Linked DNA regions of Homo sapiens: regions 2 and 3 are each linked to region 1. Evidence: promoter capture Hi-C in 16 types of primary human blood cells and fetal thymus (Javierre and others, 2016). All regions are on one chromosome and are shown on one strand. The core of a region is centred on a gene start or on the middle of the fragment in contact, and the rest is flanking DNA. Distances in the headings are between cores, read along the strand shown.

What was found. The method cuts DNA at HindIII sites, captures the fragments that hold promoters and counts their contacts. A CHiCAGO score of 5 or more calls a contact.
Region 2: a fragment that was not itself captured here is called in contact with the fragment with the promoter of ADSL in region 1 in 1 of 17 cell types (erythroblasts); the score reaches 6.1 in erythroblasts.
Region 3: a contact is called between the fragment with the promoter of RPS19BP1 here and the fragment with the promoter of ADSL in region 1, in 4 of 17 cell types (megakaryocytes, non-activated CD4 T cells, naive CD4 T cells and 1 more). The highest score is 6.4, in megakaryocytes.

What each region holds. Positions count from the first base shown.
Region 1 is chr22:40,345,163-40,347,862 of GRCh38, forward strand. ADSL (adenylosuccinate lyase) reads left to right here and starts at 1,338. Exons shown (of 13, transcript NM_000026.4): 1 at 1,338-1,549. The coding sequence starts at 1,397. RefSeq lists enhancers at 853-1,366, 1,367-1,880, 1,881-2,393 and a silencer at 1,591-1,680. The HindIII fragment of the contact is 11,540 bases long and covers 1-2,700 here.
Region 2 is chr22:39,550,440-39,553,139 of GRCh38, forward strand. No RefSeq gene overlaps it. Among named protein-coding and RNA genes, the nearest start is that of CACNA1I, 19 kb to the right of the region's middle. The HindIII fragment of the contact is 2,704 bases long and covers 80-2,700 here.
Region 3 is chr22:39,531,310-39,534,009 of GRCh38, forward strand. RPS19BP1 (ribosomal protein S19 binding protein 1) reads right to left here and starts at 1,439. Exons shown (of 4, transcript NM_194326.4): 1 at 1,378-1,439; 2 at 1,086-1,214. The coding sequence starts at 1,429. RefSeq lists enhancers at 653-1,168, 1,169-1,684, 1,474-1,533, 1,584-1,633 and silencers at 894-1,023, 1,204-1,363. The HindIII fragment of the contact is 8,920 bases long and covers 1-2,387 here.

The sequences.
Region 1 (2,700 bases), core at 88-2,587:
GTGGAGAGGGTGCAGGCACCCGGCTCTTTTCGTTTGTTTTGTTTTTGAGACAGGGTCTCACTGTTGCCTAAGCTGTAGTGGCAAAATCATGGCTTACTGCAGCCTCAACATCCTGGGCTCAAGTGATTCTCCCACCTCAGCCTCCCAAGTAGCTGGGACTACAGGTGCACACCACCATACCCAGTTAATTTTTGTATTTTTTGTAGAGACAGTGTTTCATCATGTTGCTCAGGCTGGTCTCCAACTCCTGGACTCAAGCGATCTGCCCAGCTCAGCCTCCAAAGTGCTGAGATTATAGGCGTGAGTCACCGTGCCCAGCTGAGACACCTGGCTCTTACAGCTCCAGATGAACCCTTTCCTGTGTGATCACCCCACTGGCACTCCAGACTGAACAACATAGCAAGACCCTGTCAAAAAAAAAAAAAAGGGGGGGGGCCACTTGAGTGTTTCTATTTCTATTTATTTATTTAATTCTTTTATTTTTTGGAGACGGAGTCTCGCTCTGTCGCCCAGGCTGGAGTGCAGTGGCGCGATCTTGGCTCACTGCAACCTCCGCCTTCCGGGTTCAAGAAATTCTCCTGTCTCAGCCTCACAAGTAGCTGAGACTACAGGTACAGGCCGCCATGCCCGACTAATTTTTTGTATTTTAGTAGAGACAGGGTTTCACGTGTTGCCCAGGCTGGTCTCAAACTCCTAAGCTCAGGAAATCTGCCTGCCTCGACCTCCCGAAGTGCTGGGATTACAGGCGTAGGCCACCGCAGCCGGCTCACTGGGGGCGCAGTAAATGCCGATTTCCCTTGGGTATCTTCATTTCTCCTTAGAGCCGAGCTCGGTGCGCCGCGGGCAGGAGTGGGTGGGGCGACAGTAATAAGAGTAACAGCAAGCGTACACACGGCCTTCCAAGTGTGCCAGACACCGCTCTAACACTGAATCCGCACAACCCGAAAGGCAGGCCTTTTTTTTTTTTTTTTTTTTTGCTTTTTGTTTTTTAGAGACGGGAGGGTCTCCCTGTGTTGCCCAGGCTGGTCTCGATCTGTCGGCCTCAAGCGATCCTCCGGTCTGGGGCCCCCACAGTGCTGGGATTACAAGCGTGAGCCACCGCGCCCGGCCAAGGAAGTCTTAATGTACCTCTTTTCAGACAGGAAAACTAAAGTGTAGCGCGGCTAAGTAACGTAGGAAGCATCAATCATGTTTCTGGTCAAAGAAGCGAACCAAGTCAATTCTCAGGCAGAAGCAGCGGAGATTCTCCGCAGCCGGCAGCGCCCAGGGCGCCCGGAACCCAGAGAGCGAGACCGCGTGAAGGAAGTCCCGCCCCGCCCCGTCCTGCCCTGGCCTCCAGGTTTCCGCTTCCGCTCTTCCCTGGTCCAGTCCACCCTGGCGGGGTCGCAGGGTTGGGATGGCGGCTGGAGGCGATCATGGTTCGCCCGACAGCTACCGCTCACCTCTTGCCTCCCGCTATGCCAGCCCGGAGATGTGCTTCGTGTTTAGCGACAGGTATAAATTCCGGACATGGCGGCAGCTGTGGCTGTGGCTGGCGGAGGCCGAGCAGGTAACGGATCCCGGGCTGAGGGGCTGGGCCGGGAGGGACGGGCCCGCCCCAGCACGTGCCGGGCTCTGTTCCGGGCTGGGCTTAGCCACCCCGGAGCTGCGGCCCGGCTATTTTCAGCTGGGTGTTCCCTGTCCTGAGGAGCTGCGGCCCCAGGAAAGCAAGGGCAGGAGATCCGGGAGCCGCCACCTGTTGCCTCACGTGTTCTCAGTCCGAGAGGGTTCGAGACGCGGAGGAGGCTGGGAGAAATTCAGCCTGTAGTTTCAGGGAATTCATTTTGGCCATCCCCGCAGGAGTACGCTGCTAACCACAGACACCGAGCGCTTGTTTCGTACTGTTGTGCTCATTATTTCACTAATCTTTTCTTGTGTAATCCATGAAGATCTTGCAGGCTTGATGGTGTTTTTCCCACATTGCAGGGGAGAACAAAGCCCGGACAGCTTGTTGTTTGCCCTAGCCCATCCAGCTATTAAGAACGGAACTGGGATTTGAACCTGGGTGCACTCCAGAGCCTGAGCTGAGCACGTAGCCCCTTGGTTTTCCACAGTGCCTGTGTAGTTAGTGACAGGACTGGAATGCTTGTTTTCTAGGCCACCGTTTCTGCCTCACTGGCCTCCGCTTTGCCTCTTAGGAGAAGACTCCGGGTAGGGGTTTATTAAACGGGGTTTATAATTTCTTTTCTAAGGGCTGCATAGAGAACTTCTTAGCCCAGCGGTTTCAGAAATAGCTCCAGAAGAGTTGAAGCAAACTGAAGGTGATCCAGAGAGCGATAATGTTTCTCCTCAAGTTTCAGAGGAAAGTGCCACAACGAGCAAGTTGGCAATGCCCTCTCAAACGGCACAGTAAACATGGAAACAATTTGACTTCGGGCCTAGGACCTGTACCATGGAACTCTCCAAACAGGAAACTTTCATTCTAGATTCCCTCCCTCCCCTTATCACTGCCCTCCAAAATATTGGGCGATACACTACAATAATAGCAGACATTCAGATAGTGCCTTCTGAGACCCAGGTCTTAACCCTTTACACATGGTTGCTTATTAATCCTCCAAACAACCCTGAAGAGTAGGTATGAAATACTATGACTGTACCTGTTTTACAGATGGAAGAATGAAGCATCAACTTAATAAACTCTTGGCGTAGATAGCGATAGTA
Region 2 (2,700 bases), core at 182-2,681, 790 kb before region 1:
TGCAAGAAAGCACTGTAGCCCTGACGGTGGAATTCAAGTGCCACGGGAGGCTGAGGCTGCCTCTTCTGCCTCTGGGCAAAGCTTGCCTGCTCCCTCAAATGCCCATCCTAAGCCATCAGGGCTTGAAAGACCACAGGGCAGGGCCCAGGCTTACAGTAATGACCTGGCCAACTACAGCGCCTCCAGCCTGAGACCCACTCCCACCACACAGGCCTCATGGTCTCTCCTTGATGGCGACATTGAGGGTGTTTGCCTGGAAGCCTGACTGCCCGGGTGCCGGGACTTTGTCCAGCTGAGGATAAAAGGGATAGTTGCCTGCTCTATTATTCTATCTCCAAGCAGCAGGAGTGGCAGAAAGGAAGAGTGTGAGGGCACACGTGCGTGAGAGATGTACATACACACACACAGCGGGGAGACGGGAGAGCAAGAGACAGACAGGAAGAGTTAGGGAGACAGAGAGACAGAGGGGCATGGAGAGAGCCAGAGAAAGGGTAAGACAGAGAAACGCCAAGGAGGAAGGGAGCCAGGCAAGGGAAACAGGAAGCAGGAGAGAGACGCCCAAAGAGACAGAGACAGAGGTGGACAGAAGCCAGCAGGGGCAGAGGGTCCCCACCCCCTGCACCTCAAGGTGATTTTTCCTCTTTTCATCGTCCACTCTCCTCTCTGGCTCCGTCGCTCCTAAGCTGGGCTTTCCGGTCCCTCTTCCACCTCTTCCCCAGTGTCATTTTCTTTTCTTTCTTTCTTTCTTTTTTTTTTTTTTTTGAGATAGTCTTGCTCTGTCGCCCAGGCTAGAGTGCAATGGCATGATCTCAGCTTACTGCAACCTAGGTTGCCGCCTCCTGGGTTCAAGAGATTCTCCTGCCTCAGCCTCCCGAGTAGCTGGGATTACAGGCGCCTGCCACCCTGCCTGACTAATTTTTGTATTTTTAGTAGAGGCGGGGTTTCACCAAGCTGGCCAGGCTGGTCTCGAACTCCTGACCTCAGATGATCCACCTGCCTCAGCCTCCCAAAGTGCTGGGATTACAGGGGTGAGCCACTGCGCCCAGACCCCCATGTCTTTTTTAACCTGATGCTCTCCGGGCCTTTGCTCCTGCTGTCCCTTGGCTTGAGATGCCCTTCCTCCAATACTTGGCTAGGAAAACTCAGATCTGCCCACTGCCTGTTGTCCCTTCTAGGCCTTCACTGTCTCTCCCTTTGTGGAGCCTTCTTTGGCCCTCCTGGTCTGACCCCAGAAAATATCGTTTCCTCCTGGGGGCTCCCAGCTCCTTTCTTCCGAGCTTAAATCCAGGTTGTCCAGATGTGGCTTCTCCCCACAGGGCTGGGGTTCATCTGTTTCTGTATACCTGACACGTGGCACTTAGTAGGTGGTCAATAAACATCACTGAGTGATGGCCTGGCGTGTAACTGTTGTCACACCAGCTCTCTTGAACTCAATTTCTTTCTTTTTTCCTTTTTTGACATGGAGTCTCGCTCTATTGCCCAGGCTGGAGTATAGTGGCGCGATCTTGGCTCACTGCAAACTCTGCCTCCTGGGCTCAAGCAATTCTCCTGCCTCAGCCTCCCGAGTAGCTAGGATTACAGGCGCATGCTGCCACGCCCGGCTAATTTCTGTATTGTTAGTAGAGACTGGATTCTCTGAGCCCTGTCCAGGAAGCTCCTCAGGCATCAGCTACCTGTTTTGGTTGAGAGTCAGGGACCTCCGACCTGGCAGGAACTTGAGGTTCCTGGGGTCTGTCCCCAGCTATGCTCTGCCCCCACTCCAGGCTTTTGTCCTGGGCAGATAGATAGGCTTTTGTCCTGGGCAGAGATAGATTCTCTCTCTCTCTCTCTCACACACACACACATGCGCACACACATGCACTCTGGCATAGAATCCTGTTTATGCTACTTATTAGCTGTGTGACTCTGGGCAATTTACTTAATTTCTCCGGATTCTGGTTCTCCCGAGTGTAAGTGGAGCTGCATGATCCCTGTCACCTAGGACTGCTGGGGGTTAAGTGGGCTGATAGAAGAAGTGGACACCTGCAGCCGGGCCCAGGGGCTCCCTGCTTCTCAGCTACATAAGCCAGCTCCACCCCCACACTTCCTGCCCAGATTCCTAGGGATGCAGCAATCTTGGGGGGCTGCCAGTGTTCTCCTGGACCCCTCTGGCTTTGACCTTTTGCTTCTGCTGGCTTAGTGCAGTTGGGGATGGACTGGGTGACATGCCCAGGGCTGTTCTTGTTCATGTCAGCACTGAGGGGGAGCTCGGCTCCTTTCTTGATATCCACACACTGAGTACCCCTGTGGGTCCAGCAGATGTTCCTGGGGACTTGGCAGGGGAGGGACACTGACACTGCAGCCATGCAAACCACTTCAAATCGAAGTCCCCCCGCTTCTGGGGGATCCCCCCAGGTGCGTCCCCCTCTGCGTGTCCCTGGTCTCCTCCATCTTGCAATCTCTTCTCTCCTCTCCCTTCCCTCTCCACTCTTTTCTCTCTGGACCTTCTGATTCTTCTCTCTTTATGTTGCAGAACAATCCAGCCACTACCTTCCAGACTGGGCTCTGGGTCCATCTTGGCCTCTTCAAACCCATCAAGGTGCCCACAGGTGCTGGGGTTCAGCCTGCCCCATCACATATGGGAAGCCCAGCGTCTGGCCCATCCTCCCTAGGGTCTCATTCCAAATCTCCTCCCTGTTTTACCCACAGTCAGCACTTCCA
Region 3 (2,700 bases), core at 189-2,688, 810 kb before region 1:
CCTGCCTCCAGACTTTGGCTTAAGTTGTATTTCCTCCTTGGAATTCATAATTCTTTTAACAAATACTTTAACATCTTTTATGCATTAGACTCTAGGGATTCAGACACAGTAAGAGCTTGCCACGTCCTGACACATGTCAAAATATCACCATCTTGCCTACACCAGCCCCTCCGAAAGTCTTTATGTCTATTAAGTGACACTACGTCCCCCAAGAAACTAGGCTCCACCTTCACAGCCAATTCACCACTAAAACCCCTCTAAAGGCTGAAATTCTCTGCTGCCCCCTCTTTAACATATTTTCCACCTGCACAATTCTCTTGTTATCTCTGCTGCTATAGCCACTGCCCAGGCCACAGCATGTCCTATTTCAATGGAGTAGGTAATAGCAGCACTCTGGAGACACAATGCCCGGGCAGCCACAATGCCTGTACCACCTGGGCAGGTGCCTTTTTCTGAATCTGTAAAACGGGGGTGATAGTAGTATCGACCTCAAAGGGCTGCTGTAAGGATCAAACGAGCTTACATTTGTACAGCACTTAGAATCAGCACCTGGTACAGAGTGTTAGTGAATGTGTTTAAATGCTCCATCTTTGATCCTCATTCACTAGGTCACCTTTACCAGCCTTTATTTTTTCAAATTCTCAAAGGCAACAACCTCCTTTCTGACTCAGGACCTTTGCACATACTATTCTTCCTAGAATATTCTCCTACTTTTCACCTAGCTCACTCTTATACATCCTTCAGCTCTCGGCTGAAATGTCGCTTCCTCAGAGAAGGCTGACTTGGCCTAAGTCCCCATCAGAGTACCGTAGTCTTTTAATTCATAGGCTTCAATGCACTTAGCAATGACACACTGGGTTTGATATTCTTTGATGCTTCTCTCCCCACTAGGGCCGTAGTCCACGAGGACCAGGACGGTGGCGTGTTCTGTCACCTTCGTATGTCCAGGGCCCCGCTCCGCGCCTGGCACACAGTAGGTCTAGCAATACCGGGCGAACGCTTCAAGCCCTGCCTCAAGCGCCACCTCCTCTGGGGCGCAGGTCCCAGCACCGGAGGCAGCACTTTCAGCCCCTTCCCGAACTTACCCAGTGCCGACTTGGGCACCTTTCCCTTGGCCGAGTTCCGCAGTTTCTGGGCCTGAATTGCCTTCGTCTTCCGGGGCCGTTTCACCGGAGCCCCTCTCGGCTTGGCCTGACCTGGAGGGTCCCGGGGGGCTGTAGGGGAAGAGAGAGGAAGAGACCCAGGTCAGAGGGCGCGCAGCGTTCCCATGCCACTGGGGCTAAGCCCGGCCTGGATTGTTTTCCATCCAGGGCTCCCGCCCGCAGCCACTACCATCCTCCTGCCCGCGCCGGACGTCCCCTGGCCAGCCCTCCTCACCCTCGGACGCCGCCAGCAGCTCCAGGCCCCGCCGCAGCAGGGCGGCGGACATGGCGGCGCTTGGCTCCGCCCACGAGCCTCACACTACTTCCGACCTGGCAGTCCCTGTCGTCTCGGCGGAAACCCGAGCCCGAACAGAGGGATCCGGAGGGGGATGGGCGGAAGTGCCCATCTTTCTTAGGACGCATGCGTTAGGGGTTTACACTTGAGCGGAAGAAGGGGCGGAAACTGGAGGCGGGTCCAAGGCGCAGAAAGACACATGTGTTACTCAATCCCAATCTACCTGGCTCCTGGCGCTCAGTCCCCTCCTTCCCCGGAAGCCGTCCGCAACCTGCTCCGCCGGGTTGGCCAATCCTCTCGGGTCTCGTGGCTCCGTGGCGGGCTAGGATGGGGACAGGGCGGAGTGTTTTTCATATACTTCAACCAGCACTAGGTATCGCACAGGTTGAGTGCAGCATGAGAATCCAGTTGTCTTCCCTTAAGCCAGACATTAAAGACATATCTTTGTTTTGAAAACTACAATTATTTCTCATAAAATACGTTGTTTATGTTACCAAGCAATGGGTTTATTGTCATTTTAAGTGAATTAATGAATATGTAAAATTTTTGTTTTAGTTTCTAGTATGGCAAATATCAGTTGCCTACATACAAAAGTTCTTTGGGATCCTGAATTTTTTAAAATTTATTTTATTTAATTAAATTAATTTTTTTTTTGAGACGGAATCTCGCTCTGTCGCCCAGGCTGGAGTGCAGCGATCTCGGCTCACTGCAACTTCCGCCTCCCGGGTTCAAGCGATTCTTTTGCCTTAGCCTCCCGAGTAACTGAGATTACAGACGCCCGCCACCACGGCCGGCTAATTTTCTTTTTAAAAAATTTTTAGTAGAGACGGGGTTTTGCCATGTTGGCCAGGCTGGTCTTGAACTCCGGACCTCAAGTGATCCGCCCACCTCAGCCTCCCAAAGTGCTGGGATTACAGGAGTGAGGGGATTCTGAAGTTTTAAATGTAAGAAGCTTCTTAGACCAAAACATTTGAGCCCCTCTGGCCTAGAAGTGACACTGCTTACCTGGGGGAGGAGCCCTGGGCTTGTTCGCTGCTCCATCTGCAGCTGGCAGCCCAGCACCTGGCATGGAGAAGACACGCAATAAGTGAACGGTGAATCAGAAGGGACCACTGGGTTCACTCAGCCGGGTTCTGAGGGCCTTCTGTGTACTTGACACCACAGAGTGTGGGACCTGGAGTTCGTCCTCCGGGATAGACCACACCGTTTAAGCTCCATCGGCTAGAGAGTAATAATAACAACCAACACAAACTCAAGCATTTG